5 separate regions of the Homo sapiens genome follow, and regions 2, 3, 4 and 5 are each linked to region 1. The links are contacts of gene promoters, found by promoter capture Hi-C in human tissues and cell types (Jung and others, 2019). All regions are on one chromosome and are shown on one strand. The core of a region is centred on a gene start or on the middle of the fragment in contact, and the rest is flanking DNA. Distances in the headings are between cores, read along the strand shown. Region 1 holds the start of UQCC1 (ubiquinol-cytochrome c reductase complex assembly factor 1). Region 2 overlaps CPNE1 (copine 1). Region 3 overlaps MMP24-AS1-EDEM2 (MMP24-AS1-EDEM2 readthrough). Region 4 overlaps MMP24-AS1-EDEM2 (MMP24-AS1-EDEM2 readthrough). Region 5 holds the start of MMP24 (matrix metallopeptidase 24).

Region 1 (2,783 bases), core at 68-2,567:
GATGGCACCACTGCACTCCAGCTTCGGCGACAGAGCAAGACTCTGCCTCAAAAAAAAAAAAAAAAAAAACAAAACCCTAAAGGGTGGCAGGGGAAGGATTAAAAAAAAAAAAAAAAAAAAAACCACTAAATTCAGAACATTCTAATTGCCATTTCCCCAGCAGTCCTCATTTCTGAATCAATTTCTGGCCTGAAATCAAACAATCACTTCACCAGGTGAATCTTTCTGGCAGTTACAGGGGCTACTCTACAAATAAATATTTACTGAACAGCAGTCGAGGGTACCTCACTCTGCTAGGCTGGCAAGGAATACAAGAAGTAAAACTGTCGTCCTTGTAAGACATATATAAAAAGATCAAAAACACAAATGTAAAATAACAATTCAGAAGTTACCTAGACACAGGAATAGACCATGTCTACTATGAAAAACAGTGTCTTTGACCCAGTTTTTGAAGACTCGCTAAAACTATACACTCTCCCATCCCTCCATGATTAAAAACTAAGCTCTGTATCCTAACGTTTTTTCTGCTGCCACTTTCTTTTCTCCTTTAATTGCTAGAGAAAAGAGTATGCTAGAAGGGTCAGGACTAAATCTCAAGAGGTGCAGTAGTTTCACACACGGGTGCTAAAGAGTCTGGTAGTCTTTCCTTACTTCATTCATTTATTCAACAAGTAATCATTTAACACCTATGATGTGCCAGACACCATGCTAGGCAAAGTGAAAACGACGGAGACAGACATGACTCCAATTCTCACGCAGCTTTCAATCTAATAATCTATATTCCACTTAACTGTACAGTTAAGAACTGACTTATTACCTATGAAAGAAACCCTGAGAATCTCAGAATCTAAAGGGACTGCAGGAGATAAATGTCCTCGTTTTTCACATAGGGTCAATGAGGCCCAAAAGTGACTTGCTTAAAGTCACTATGCATCAGTGACAGTCAGGGACTAGAACCCAGGCCTCCTGAAACTCCAATCAGTGTCCTACATGCTCCTCTCCCTGAGGGGAAGCAGGTACATGGGGGAGGGAAGGAAAAGTAAACCCCATCAAATAAAGGCCAGATGTCAGTCTTCCCCTTCTCGAAAGATGGGGGAGCTAAGGTCAAAACGGGGTAGGAAGAGGTCGGAAGCTGCCTCAGTTTCCCCACGGAAAAGCGGCCACTCAGCCTAGCTATAACACAGGCTTCCCTCCTGCGATTCCTTCCAATTCCTCCCGCCCTGCCTTGTCGAACTCCAACCCGGGACCCAGAGAGCTACCGTAGAAAATTACTCCTTCACTCACAAGGACTCGCACCAGCAACGCCATGTTCCTCAATAACCATTTCCGGGTGAAGAGTGAGTTTCCGGTGTCCCCTTTTCTACGTCCTCCTTTTGCCGGCGAAAGACTGGCAAGGGGGGCGCAGGCGCAAAGAGGTCGCTACGCGCACGCGCTGTTGTTTTCTCGGCTGTGCACCAGGCTGTCGTGCCCGGGCACGCTCTCCCTGCTGTCTCCCCCACTACACGTAACAGTGGTTCAAATCCTTCCCCCACGCCTGTCTCCTTGACCCCAGACCTCGGGGCTTCTCATATCCCTCTCTTTATTCCCCACCTAACCCAGCCTCACTCCTCAGCCCCTCCTTCCCAAACTCCACCCCAACACTTTTCAATGGAGGTTGAAAAGAACAGGACTTTAGGAAATCCCAATCTTTAGAAAGAGCCAGAAGACCGGGCGCGGTGGCTCACGCCTGTAATCCCAGCACTTTGGGAGGCCGAGGCGGGCGGATCACCTGAGATCAGGAGTTCGAGACTAGCCTGGCCAACATGGCAAAACCCCGTCCCTAACTAAAAATACAAAGAAAGTAGCCGGGCATGTTGGTGTGTGCCTGTAATCCCAGCTACTCTGAAGGCAGAGGTTGCAGTGAGCCGAGATCGCGCCACTGCACTCCAGCCTGGGCGACAGAGCAGGACTGGACTCTGTCTCAAAAAAAAAAAAAAAAAAAAAAAAAAAAAAGCCAGAGAAGGAGGCTAAGATAAAAGAATACGGGGGATACCAGACTCCTGAAAGTCAAGGCAAGAAGGCGGTCATGTGCCGATCTGAAGCCTGGTAGAGGAAGAAACTTTTGGGATTTGTGGTTGGTTGGTTGTTTAAGGGAAACATCTTTGCATATTGATAGGAAAAGATTAGTGAAGAGTATACAGGGCCGTGCCCGGTGGCTCATGCCTGTAATCCCAACACTTTGGGAGGCCGAGGCAGGTGGATTGCCTGAGGTCAGGAGTTCAAGACCAGCCTGACCAATATGGTGAAACCCCGTCTCTACTGAAAATACGAAAAAAATTAGCCGGGCATGGTGGCGTGTGCCTGTAATCCCAGCTACTTGGGAGGCTGAGGCAGGGAATCGCTTGAACCCGGGAGGCAGAGGTTGCAGTGAGCTGAGACTGGGGCACTGAACTCCAGCCTGGGTGACAAAGCGAGACTCCGTCTCAAAAAAAAAAAAAAAAAAAGAGTATACAGGAGAATCAATCAAAGAGGCAAGGAGCTTCTTGAGGAAAGTGGCAGAGAACGGCCTTGGTAGAAGACTCCTCTTCCATTACATCCCAAGAGAAGAGAAGACAAAGTACTGGTGCTTTGGGGGTTGAGGGAGCAGAGGGGCAGGATGTTGAAGGACTTCTTTCATTTCATTCAGTCAACAAAGACCTATTGAGTCTTCCCTATGTGCTGAACACAAGACATACTGGCTTCATGGAGTTCTTAGACTGGTGGGGGAGGCATAGGAACCCAGTGAAAAAAATTAAAACTGGGGA
Region 2 (2,700 bases), core at 5-2,504, 240 kb after region 1:
CCAGCTTTAAACCAAATTCTGAGAGTAGCCAACTTCTATTTTCAGCAGCTGGCAAGAGCACCCTCAATGAGTTCTACTGACATTTCTATTTTCTTCATCCCATATGGTATAAAACAAAACCAATCTAGACTCCTTGATAAGCTTTATGTGGTCATTTGAGTTTTACAAATGGTTTCTCTAATGGTATGCCAAAATCATTTATGTGTTCTCTCCAGATAGCTTTACTGTAACATACAGCAATGTTTATCCTGGTGAGTGAGTCTTCTGTAAACAGTCAACCAATGCTCTATGTTATGGAAACCAAGCTATATGCAATTGAAACAATCCACAGGTTCTAACCTGGAAATACTAGGAAAACAATCTGGATGCATTAATCACAGCAATATGAAGATCTACCCTATAAAAAATGATGTGAATGGCTACCCTAATACAAGTTTTACTTTTCTTGAACCTATAGGCCTGTCATTTAAGTCAATGACAGCAGCTGTGGCTTCATCCCGAGACTCAAAGGCCACCATGGCTTCACCTGTGGGCATACCTTTTTCATTGTATTTTAAACACACTGAGCCTGGGATTACTTGATAGCCATAAAAGAAATCTAAAATCTCATCAATAGACACAGTAAAGGGCATGTTTTGCACTTTAATTACTGTCGGTCCTGGTTTTCCAGAACTAGATGCAAAGCCAGGGGGACCACCAATATGGATTGGGCCAGGGCCGGGGCCGGGGCCGGGGCCAGGCCCAAAAGCTGGTGGCCCACCCAAATGCCCAGGGGCACTTCCAAGACCAGGAGGGCCACTTCCAAACCCCGGGGGACCGCCTAAGCTACCAGGGCCATTTCCAAAATTCTGAGGGCCCCCTCCAAATCCCGATGGCCCACTTAAATTGTTTGGTCCACCTCCAAAACCCGGAACATCCAGTCCTAGACCAGGCAAACCACTGTTTCCAACTGAAGGCATACCAGGCCTAGCATCACCAAAGGCCCCGCCTCCTAATCCTGGAGGAGGGATTGGTGGCCCAAAGGCATTTGATCCACCAAAATTACCAGGAAAGTTAAATGGAGGCCCATTATTGGCTTCCTTTGATCCTACAGTCAGGAAGGCATGCTCTTCACCTCCTGCACTAGGTATTCCTGCACTGGGCATTCCCGCACCAGGCAGTCCTGCACTGGTTATTGCTGAACCAGGCAGTCCTGTGCTGGGCAGGCCTGCACCGGGAAGTCCTGCACTGGGCAGTCCCACACCGGGCAGTCCCGCATTGGGCATTCCTGGAACTGCAGGATTACCTGGCACAGGCATCTTTAATCCCTTTTTTCCTTGGGCAGGGGGATTTTTCTCAATCTCTCTCATATCTTCTAGGGTAACTACATGAACAAAAGCTTCTCTCCCATTAAGTTTTTTACGGTGTAAGCGTTCAGACTTACGTGCATCATCTTCATTTTTAAACTGAACCAATGCCTGTCCTAGACCTTGCCCATTGTTATCAACAAGAACATGTACAGCATTTTCATCCACTGGGATTCCTTCTAGGAACTGAAGAACATCCATCTTTGTAATGCTGAATGGAATATTTGTTATGTGGGCACAGACTTTGGCAGAGTTGACATCCCCCTCTGGATTTAGTATCATTTCCCTCTGGTCATAGCTGAAGTTCTGCAGTCTTTTTCGAATCATATCTATCTTTTCTAGCATACCTTTCTTAGTAATTGGATGAACTTGAATAAAGCGATTGCCCATGTACTGTTTATGACGACACAGAGCAGCCTTATAGTCAGCCTCATTTCTGAACTCTACAAAGCCTTCGCCAGTTGCTTTCCCATTGGGTCCATAAGCTATATAAATACTATCTTCCACAATATCCAGCTTTTTAAAAAAATCAATGACATGTTTGTTTTCTGCTTCAAATGGTAGCCCTTTCAAGTAAACACAAAAACCAGCCTCATGTGGTGATCTTGACCTTGATCTTTTCTGCCCACTGGGCGATTTTGACCTGGGAAGTGTCTGAGGAGGGGGATGAGTTTGTCCAGAAGGTCCCATATTTTGCTTAAAAGTGATATGGCCTCCAGCAGCTACCCACTGTCTTTCTGTGGCAGGGCTAACTTCCACATAGCGTTGAATCATCAGCATTCTGTTTCGTTTCAAAGCTTCAAATGTATCTTGAGGGGAGAGAAACTTAACCAATCCATTCCCATTATTTCGACCTACATGATCTTTCAACAAATGCACTGCATCAACACGGAGCCCATGAAAAAAATCTCTGACATCATTTTCCATTGCAGAAAAGGGCATTCCATGCACACTGACATACAGATCATCAGGGTTGATGGGGAGTGGCTTCACACTGCTCTGAGAGTTCATCTGGATAGGGTTAACAGGATTCAACGGACCAAGAAACATAGGATTCAGATTATTGTTCAAATTCATAGGTGCTCCAGAGCCATTCATTCCAGCAGGTAGAGGTGCCACAGGTGGCGGATTCAAGGGCGGCATGCCCGACATGGGTGGCAGTGGGGTCATGGGTGGCACAGAAGGAACTGGGGGAATCGGGGGCACAGGAGGCACAGGAGGCAATGTAGGTACTGGAGGAGGAACTGGAATTGGGGGAATGGATGGCATTGGTGGCAGAGATGGCATCGCTGGAATTGGAGGAATTGGTGGCGGCGGGACTGTGTTCATTGGAGAGGCTGTGCTTGGAACAGTT
Region 3 (2,730 bases), core at 156-2,655, 150 kb before region 1:
AACGTTGTGGCATTCCTATTTATCTACCTTTTTTTGGCTGATGTATTTTAAAGAAAATCTCAGGCATTCTAACATTTCACCTTTAAATACTTTAGTATATACCTCTAACAGATAAAGGCTAATTTTTAACATAAGCACACAATCATTATCAAGCCCAACAAAATTAACAATAATTTTTTAAAATCTAATACCCAGTTCGAGTTCACTTTCCCAAAGTACCTTGGAAATGTCTTTTACAGTTGTTTGCTTGAATCAGGATCCAAACAAGATCCACACACACATGGCTGACATGTCTCTTAAAGCCCTTTTTATTTAAAACACCCCCGTCCTACACACACGTTTCCCTCCATATATTTGTTGAAGAAACTGGGTCAGGTGTCCCGAGTATAATCATTTGGCGTGACTAGAATCAAGTTTACTTTTAATACGTCTCTCTTGCCCATAATTCCTGAATGTTGTTCATTAGATTTACAGGCTGACTAGATTCAAGTTCAATTTTTTTGGCAAGAATACTTCCTAGGTGGTGCTGGTACTTCCTATTCACCATATTAGCAAATACATATGATGCAGACTGTCCCACTTTTAGTGATGTTGAGGTCGAGCATTTGCTTCAGGTTGTGTCAGCCTGACCCAACCATTATACAATTCACCTGGAGAACTTAAAAAAAAAAAACAACAAAAAAGATTGCCTACGTCCCAAACCAAACCTCCTGAATCAGAATATCTTCCCCACCTCCTCCATGTGTTTAAAAGGCTCCCCGGGCCAGGTGCGATGGGAGCACTGGAGTAATCCCAGCACTTTGGGAGGCCGAGGGGGGGCAGATCACCTGAGGTCAGGAGTTCGAGACCAGCCTGGCCAACATGGCAAAACCCCGTCTCTACTAAAAATACAAAAATTAGCCGGGTGTGGTGGCACATGCCTGTAATCCCAGCTACTCGGGAGGCTGAGGCAGGAGAATGGCTTGAACCCGGGAGGCGGAGGTTCAAGTGAGCCGAGATTGCACCACTACACTCCAACCTGGGTGACAGAGTGAGATCCTGTCTCAAAAATAAAAAAGAAAGAAAATACTTTTTAAAAAAATAGGAAATTCACCCCTTTGGAAAGTGGCAGAGCCAGGTGTGACCCCAGGACTCCGCATTTTTAAGTCACCACAGGTGGTTCTGCTGCAGGTGGTCCGAGTATTTCCCTTGGTAAAATACGGTGCTTTTGGCGCTGTTCCATTCCGGGGGCTGTCACCTGGTTCTTCAACACAAAGCTTGTCCTCAAGGAACCCACAGTCCTGGGGCAGCGAGCATGTGCACTAGTGGCAATCACGTGGGGAGGAAGCGGTCAGTGCCATAAAGGCAGTTCAGGGAAACTGCTGGGAGGGCACAGCAGAAGGAGCACTCACTGCCAGCTGGGAAGTCATGGAAGGCTTCCTGGAAGACAGGCATGGAGCTGAACTTTGAAGGAATCAGGTTATTCCAGGGGAAGGGGCAGCACTGGCAGAAGAACAGAGGCAAAGGGAAATGCTATCACCTTTCGTGGGGCTGGGGGAGTTAATGAGATGGGAACGACCAAATATGGAGATCCTAAAAGAAAGAAATGAGGCAGAGACAAGGTCCACTTGAGTAGCCGAGTAGACTGCTGGGGACTTGCTCGGAGGCCCAGGGACTTACAGGAACACACCCTATCAGGGGTGCTGGTGCTCACACACAGCTCAACAGGACCCTGCTAATGAAGGGTAATACTTCTGTACCAGGAGCTGGTATCAGCGCATTACACACCCTGCCCCATGAATCTTCACCCACATCCCTATGACGAAGGTGCCATTGTTCCTTCTATCTTCCAGAGGAAGAATTTAAAATGTCACACTGCTAGGACATGGCAGAGCTGGGATTCAAAACCAGGCAGTCTGGCTCCCAGAGACTGCATTCCTGACCACTCTGCTTCCCTGCCGCTCACCCTCTTGAAGAGTGAAGACCCTAGCAGCCTCCTGCCCATGGAGCATGGGGTCCTCATAGCAGGCCTCTCCTCCTCATACCTCTGCCTTCACCTCACAAGCTCAGGGAGTCCTCCTGCCCCTGCCCTGCTCCCTCTGTCTCCCCCTCAGGGCTCTCTTGGGTTTCTGTGCAGCAGGATACTGGCTCCCTCGCTCTTCCCTTCCTTTTGGTTCCTGGACCCAAACCACAGGCCTCTTTCCTTTAAGGGGTCACTCCTGTTCTCTGCAGACCCAGAACAGGGGTTAAAAGAGCAAGAGACAAGGCTGCGGACAAAGGTTTTGAGTCTCCCACAGTGCTCAGAGCCGTGTTCCCTGGTTCCCAGCTGAGCTCCCTGTGGACAGCCCCTGGGGAAGAGCCTGCTCAGGAGACAGAGGCCCTGAACAGCTTGTCCCAGGTCATAGAATAGCCCAGGAGCACAGCCAGGACTGGACCCCAGGAAGCAGAGCTGCCTTCCGCTGGCTCTACCAGTTTGTTTGGGATGGAGCTCAGCGATGAGCTCACCCTTCCCTGCTGCCAGAGGGGCCAGGACCTGAGTAAGGAGCTGGGGGCGGCCTGGCCCTCTCATGCCAGCAGAAGGCCAGCCCCAGGCTTTTGGCCAACCTTGCACTGATCTTGCCCATCCCCCTTCCTTTCCGTTGCTCAAAGGTGGCTTCACAGAAGACACTGGCGGTGTCAGTAGTGTGGGAGGCATGTACTGCCCGTGGCCTGGGTCTGCCCCATGGGGTTCTTCTCTCTTCCAGAGACCTA
Region 4 (2,712 bases), core at 149-2,648, 220 kb before region 1:
CAGGATGGTCTCGATCTCTTGACCTCATGATCCACCTACCTCAGCATCCCAAAGTGCTGGGATTACAGGCTGTGAACCACCGTGCCCAGCAATCTTTTCTTCTCCAGATTAAACATCTTACTTTCTTCAAGGGTTCCTTATTTGATGTGGCAGTTCAGTAACCTGCTATTGTTCTTCTGGACTTGTTACAATTTGTCAATTTCTCATGCATTTATTTAAAAAAATTTATTGAGTCGGGTCACTAGAATTACTAAATAAGAAAAAGAAAATTATTGAGTGACTTCTATGGTTCAGACGCTGTTTTAGGACGTGGGAATAGAGCAATATAGCAGAGAACAAAAACAAAGTCTGTCTTAGAAGCTACAGTTTACTGGGAGGGACAGACCCTAAACAAATAATTTTTTTTTAATGTCAGAGATAATTAGTAGGAAATAGGTAGAAAAATAAGGAAGGTCGAAGGGAGAATAACTGAGTTGCTGTTTTAGACAGCATAATCAGGGCAGGCCTCTGGAATAAGATGACAGTTGAGCAGAGATATGAAGGAAGTGCAAGAGTGGCCAGGGGAAGAACAAGCCAATTTAGATAGACCGAACAAGTGCAAAAGCTCTGAGGAGTAAGCTTGGTTTATTTCATGAACAAGGAGGCCAGTTTATCTGAAGTGGTACAGGCAAAGAGAAGAGAAAGAGCAGGAGGCAAATAACCGAGGGCCTAATAAGCCAATTATCTGTACTTTGCTATTTGTTCTGAGTGAGATGGAAAGGCATTGGAGGCTTTCGAGAAGAGGACTGACGTGATTTGACTTGCATTTGAAAAGCATCACTATGGCTACCATGGGGGGAAACAAAGTTTAAAAGGCAAAGAAATACTCAGGGACCTCCAAGGATACTCATACATTCCTGTTAGGAGGCAATAATATGGGTGAAAAATGATGGTGGCAAGGACAAGGGTGATACCACTACTTACCCATTACCCATCAGAATAGTCAGAAAGAAAAAGACAAACAAGGAAGGAAAGAAAAGACAGTATTGGCAAGGATACAGGCCAATTAGAACTTTCCTACACTGCTGTTGGTAAGGTAAATTGATATGAAACAACCACTGTTTAGAAAACCGCAGTATCTACTAAAGTTGAACATCTGCCTCCTAGGCATATGCCTAACAGAAACGTTTACCTATGTTCACTGAAAGACATATACAAGATTAGTCATAGCTGTAAGAATTAAAGAAAGAAGAGAGAAACACGAAGGGCGGCTCGACAGTCAACAGGGACAGGTTTATTCTGAATAAACTTGAGTGGGGCAGCTGGCCAAGTTAGGTCAGAGCCACACTCTCTTACAGACTAAGTGTTTTTAAGGATTCAGGGTGGGAGAATTTATCAGAGGCTTGGACTGCTTCTGTGTTTCTTTGTTGTGCTTATCTGGGAGGGAAAGTTGTGTGTCTGTTCCCATACATCTTTCTGCAGCTGCAGGCATATCCCCCGGGTTGCTTTTAGCTTCCCTATCTTAGTGCACCTGAAGGGAAAGGAATGTGCTTATTAGGGCCTACTGTTTTACTGGGAGCCATCGTATGAGGGTGAAGTTTGGCAGTTACCCAGGAGACTTTCCCCCCACCTCCCTCTGTACCCAAGCTGTCTTATCTATGTTTTACTGTCTGCTCTTTCTATTTGTACTTAGAAGAGAGTGATTTCCTTGAAATGCACGAGGCTAGAAAGGGAGCTGGAACTTAAAGTGGCAGTGTTTGTTCGAGATGACAGTGCTCCTGCTCTGTCAATAGCAGTATTCTTTGTAATATCCCCAACTAAAAAGTACCCAAACACCATCAAGAATAGAATAATGAAACAAATTATACTATATTTACATAATGGAATATACAACGAGAGTAGAAAAACTTAAACTACAAGTCTTAATATAAGTGAATGTCACAAATATAATATTGATCAAAAGAAGCCAAACACAAAAAAGTATAAACTATATGATTACATTTATATAAATTTCAAAGACACACAGAACTAACCTGTGGTGTTAGAAGCCAGGATATTGGTTACATTTGGGAAGCTAATGATTAGAAGGGAGACATGAGGGCTTCTGAGGCAATGCCCTGTTTCTTTCTTTCTTTTTTTTTTTTTTTTAAGATGGAGTCTCGCTCTGTCACCAGGCTGGAGTGTAGTGGCGCAATCTCGGCTCACTGCAACCTCCACCTCCCAGGTTCAAGCCATTCTCCTGCCACAGCCCCCCGAGTAGTTGGGCCTACAGGCGCATGCCACCACGCCCAGCTAATTTTTGTACTTTTAGTAGAGACGGGGTTTCACTGTGTTGGCCAGGATGGTCTTGATCTCTTGACCTCGTGATCTGCCTGCCTCAGCCTCCCAGAGTGCTGGGATTACAGGCATGAGCCACCGCACCTGGCCTGCCCTGTTTCTTAATCTGGATGCTGGCTATATCAATAGGCTCACTTTGTGAACATTCACTAAGTTGTACATTTATAATTTGAGCACTTTCCTGTATCAGTGTTATGCCTCAATAAAGTTTACATTACAAAGGAATGACTCAGAGGTTTTGATCTGTGCAACTGGAGGCTATAATTGACATTTATTGAAATGGGGAAGCTATAGAAGAAGCAGGTTTTGGTGGGAAATGCATTCATTATGTACATACTACATTTGATATTTATTAGACATCCAAGTTGAAATGCTGATAGAATGCAGTTGGTATAC
Region 5 (2,700 bases), core at 125-2,624, 190 kb before region 1:
CTGAAAGCAATCTTATACAGTAATAGTAGCATCATTTTATAAAAATGGAACAGAGCCAAGATATGAACATAGGTCTGACGCTAAAGCCTGTGCCCTTTTTTCATCTCCAAATTACCACGTAATCATAAAATACTATTTTCACACATCATCCTGCTTAAACACACACATACACACACACACACCACACACACACAACCTTTAATGACCACCCTCCCCCATTTTCCTTCAGAACACAACCCAAATTTATTATCCTAGCATTCACTGTCTTGTACAACTTCCCTCACTTCCCAACACTTTCCTATAGGAACCCTGTGCTCCAGAGAAACTTATCTGCCGCCTCAGGCACATCCTGTACACCCTCAACTTCCTCCCTGAAATGCCCTCTCCTCTCCCCTCCCCTGGTTTAAATCCAGCCTTTCCTTCAGGTCCTAGCTAGAGTCCCACCCTCCTCCATTACACTTTTTCCTAACTTCCCCAGCCCCTCATCAGGTCTCCCTCGACCCCTGGAGCAGCCGCCTGTATCCTTGTTGACACGTGGTGTTTGCCATTCTGTTTTTCTTTGCGTTTATGTTTTCTCATCAAGCTGTAAACCTCTGCACTCCAGGAAATCGGCCTTCTCTTTTTTGTTTTTGTTTTTGGGTGTTTTTTTTTTTCCTTTCAGCATCCCAAGTAGCCCAGAGCCCTACAAATAGAAAGCGCTTGATAAATATGGGTTGTTTTGGATGAAAGATGATCTTCCCAGCTGGATGAGCTCTTTCCCTCTAGGGGTGAGGGACTGAGCTTCACCTCAACTTCACCTAATGTCTCACAGGAATGCCCCCTCTTAAACGCTCCTCAGGTCTTCTCTACCCCTTTCCCCCACCACCCCGGCCCAGGAGAGCCACTCAGAGCTCCCTCTCCGGAGTCACCCTCTCAGACCCAGGGCTATTTCTTTAGCTTGCTCTCGAACCCCGCCTTTACCCCAGAGCCGCTCCTCAGTCTCCTCCCCCAGGCTGCCTCTCAGGCCCCCTCTCCTCCAATGCCACTCCCTAGGACCCTCTCCCCAGGGTTCCGGACCCCCAACCCCGGATATGTTCCCCCAGGGCCATCCAGTTGTTCTACCTCCAGGATTACTGATTTAGCCTCTTCCCCCTCCTGCTCAGGGCTACCCCCAGACCCCGACCTCCAGTTCCACCCCTTCGGACCCTGCCTCTAGAACTGTTCTTTTAGCCTCTGCAACCCCCTCCCCAGCGCCGCTCCGCGGCCCCTGCCCCAGGGCTGGTCGGGGAGCCACTGCCCTCGCAGGTCCCGCCCGGGTGCTGCCCCCGCGCCCCCGGCCGCCCCCCACCGGGGCGGGGCGCGCGGAGGCGGGGGCGCGCTGGCGGCCGAGGCGGCGGCGGCGGCGGCGAAGGCAGGCGGGCCGGGCGCGGGCCCCGCCGCCGGGATGCCGAGGAGCCGGGGCGGCCGCGCCGCGCCGGGGCCGCCGCCGCCGCCGCCGCCGCCGGGCCAGGCCCCGCGCTGGAGCCGCTGGCGGGTCCCTGGGCGGCTGCTGCTGCTGCTGCTGCCCGCGCTCTGCTGCCTCCCGGGCGCCGCGCGGGCGGCGGCGGCGGCGGCGGGGGCAGGGAACCGGGCAGCGGTGGCGGTGGCGGTGGCGCGGGCGGACGAGGCGGAGGCGCCCTTCGCCGGGCAGGTGGGGCTGGCGCGCGGGGCCGGGGCGCGGGCTCGGGGCATCCGGGCAGGGCGGGGGGCGGCACCGGGGACGGGCCTGGGCCGGGCCGCACCTACTGCCGAGGTCGCGGAGGCGGCGCGCCGGGGGTCCGCGCCTTGGGTCCGGGCTGGCGCGGCCCAGGGCGGGGGCTGGGGAGGGCCTCGCCGAGGGCCGCCGAGGCCGGGAGCTGCTTCAGCACCGCGGACAGGGGCAGCGGGCGGGGGCCGAGCACGAGGGTCGGGTTTGTTGTGTTGGCAGTGGGGTGTGTGGCCTGCATGACTATGTGCGAGGGAAACCGTACAACGCCTCGGAGTAAATAGTAAGCGCAGCCAGTCTGTTGTGGGTTGGGAGAAGAAACCGAGGATGTTCAAGCTGGAGAAGGGGGAGGGGGAGGGCGGAGGAAGGACTCGATCACTGTCTTCGTAGCTGAAGGGCTGTCAGGTGGAGGTAGGATAGACTTGTTCTAGCTTGGCCCCACAGGGCAGAACTAGGGCCAGCGGGAGTGGGGGTTGCAAGAAGACAAATTTGGGCTCGATATAGGAAGAAGTTTGTAACAATTGGAGCTGCTCAACCAGCTTAGGAGGCGGCGAGCTGCTCATCACTGGCATGTGCAAGTAAAAGCTCTCGGAGGGGATTGGATGGAGGCATGCATAATGCTTGCATGGATGCATACATCATCATCACAATAATGCCAGCTAGCATTTACTGAACACTCACTATGTGCCAGGCCTGGTGCTATGTTTTATACGAATTATCCAATTCAATCCTCATAACTACTCTATGAAATAGCTGCAATTATTATCCCCATTTTACAGATGGGGATACAGACTCAAAGAGCTTAAGTAACTTGCCCAAGGTCACACAGCTAGTGAGTGATGGAATTGGAATTCTAACCTAGGCAGGCTGACTCTAGTCTCCCCTTATTTACCCATGACCTTATCCTATATCTCATGGGGGGTGCAGTTGGACTAATTTCTCTAGTATCTTCCAACCTAGAGGACTGCAATATTCTA

The links. The method cuts DNA at HindIII sites, captures the fragments that hold promoters and counts their contacts. A contact is called where the count stands out against the background at its distance.
Region 2: a contact is called between a fragment that was not itself captured here and the fragment with the promoter of UQCC1 in region 1, in 1 of the 25 tissues and cell types used here (hippocampus).
Region 3: a contact is called between a fragment that was not itself captured here and the fragment with the promoter of UQCC1 in region 1, in 6 of the 25 tissues and cell types used here (aorta, bladder, dorsolateral prefrontal cortex and 3 more).
Region 4: a fragment that was not itself captured here is called in contact with the fragment with the promoter of UQCC1 in region 1 in 2 of the 25 tissues and cell types used here (aorta and lymphoblastoid cells).
Region 5: the fragment with the promoter of MMP24 here is called in contact with the fragment with the promoter of UQCC1 in region 1 in 3 of the 25 tissues and cell types used here (IMR-90 fibroblasts, aorta and mesenchymal stem cells).

What each region holds. Positions count from the first base shown.
Region 1 is chr20:35,410,656-35,413,438 of GRCh38, forward strand. It overlaps UQCC1 (ubiquinol-cytochrome c reductase complex assembly factor 1), which reads right to left and starts at 1,318. Exons shown (of 10, transcript NM_018244.5): 1 at 1,285-1,318. The coding sequence starts at 1,308. RefSeq lists enhancers at 650-1,473, 1,064-1,163, 1,224-1,373, 1,474-2,296, 1,504-1,553. The HindIII fragment of the contact is 20,339 bases long and covers 1-2,783 here.
Region 2 is chr20:35,652,105-35,654,804 of GRCh38, forward strand. All of the region lies in intron 1 of CPNE1 (copine 1), which reads right to left. RBM12 (RNA binding motif protein 12) reads right to left here. Exons shown (of 3, transcript NM_006047.6): 3 at 1-2,700. The coding sequence ends at 420. Among named protein-coding and RNA genes, the nearest start is that of CPNE1, 11 kb to the right of the region's middle. The HindIII fragment of the contact is 4,724 bases long and covers 1-2,700 here.
Region 3 is chr20:35,258,136-35,260,865 of GRCh38, forward strand. All of the region lies in intron 2 of MMP24-AS1-EDEM2 (MMP24-AS1-EDEM2 readthrough), which reads right to left. The region is part of intron 4 of MMP24 (matrix metallopeptidase 24); the gene reads left to right. Among named protein-coding and RNA genes, the nearest start is that of MMP24-AS1-EDEM2, 19 kb to the right of the region's middle. The HindIII fragment of the contact is 5,720 bases long and covers 1-2,730 here.
Region 4 is chr20:35,191,068-35,193,779 of GRCh38, forward strand. All of the region lies in intron 4 of MMP24-AS1-EDEM2 (MMP24-AS1-EDEM2 readthrough), which reads right to left. It also overlaps a transcript of PROCR not described here. Among named protein-coding and RNA genes, the nearest start is that of PROCR, 20 kb to the left of the region's middle. The HindIII fragment of the contact is 4,534 bases long and covers 1-2,712 here.
Region 5 is chr20:35,225,316-35,228,015 of GRCh38, forward strand. It overlaps MMP24 (matrix metallopeptidase 24), which reads left to right and starts at 1,375. Exons shown (of 9, transcript NM_006690.4): 1 at 1,375-1,669. The coding sequence starts at 1,424. The region is part of intron 3 of MMP24-AS1-EDEM2 (MMP24-AS1-EDEM2 readthrough); the gene reads right to left. The HindIII fragment of the contact is 20,114 bases long and covers 1-2,700 here.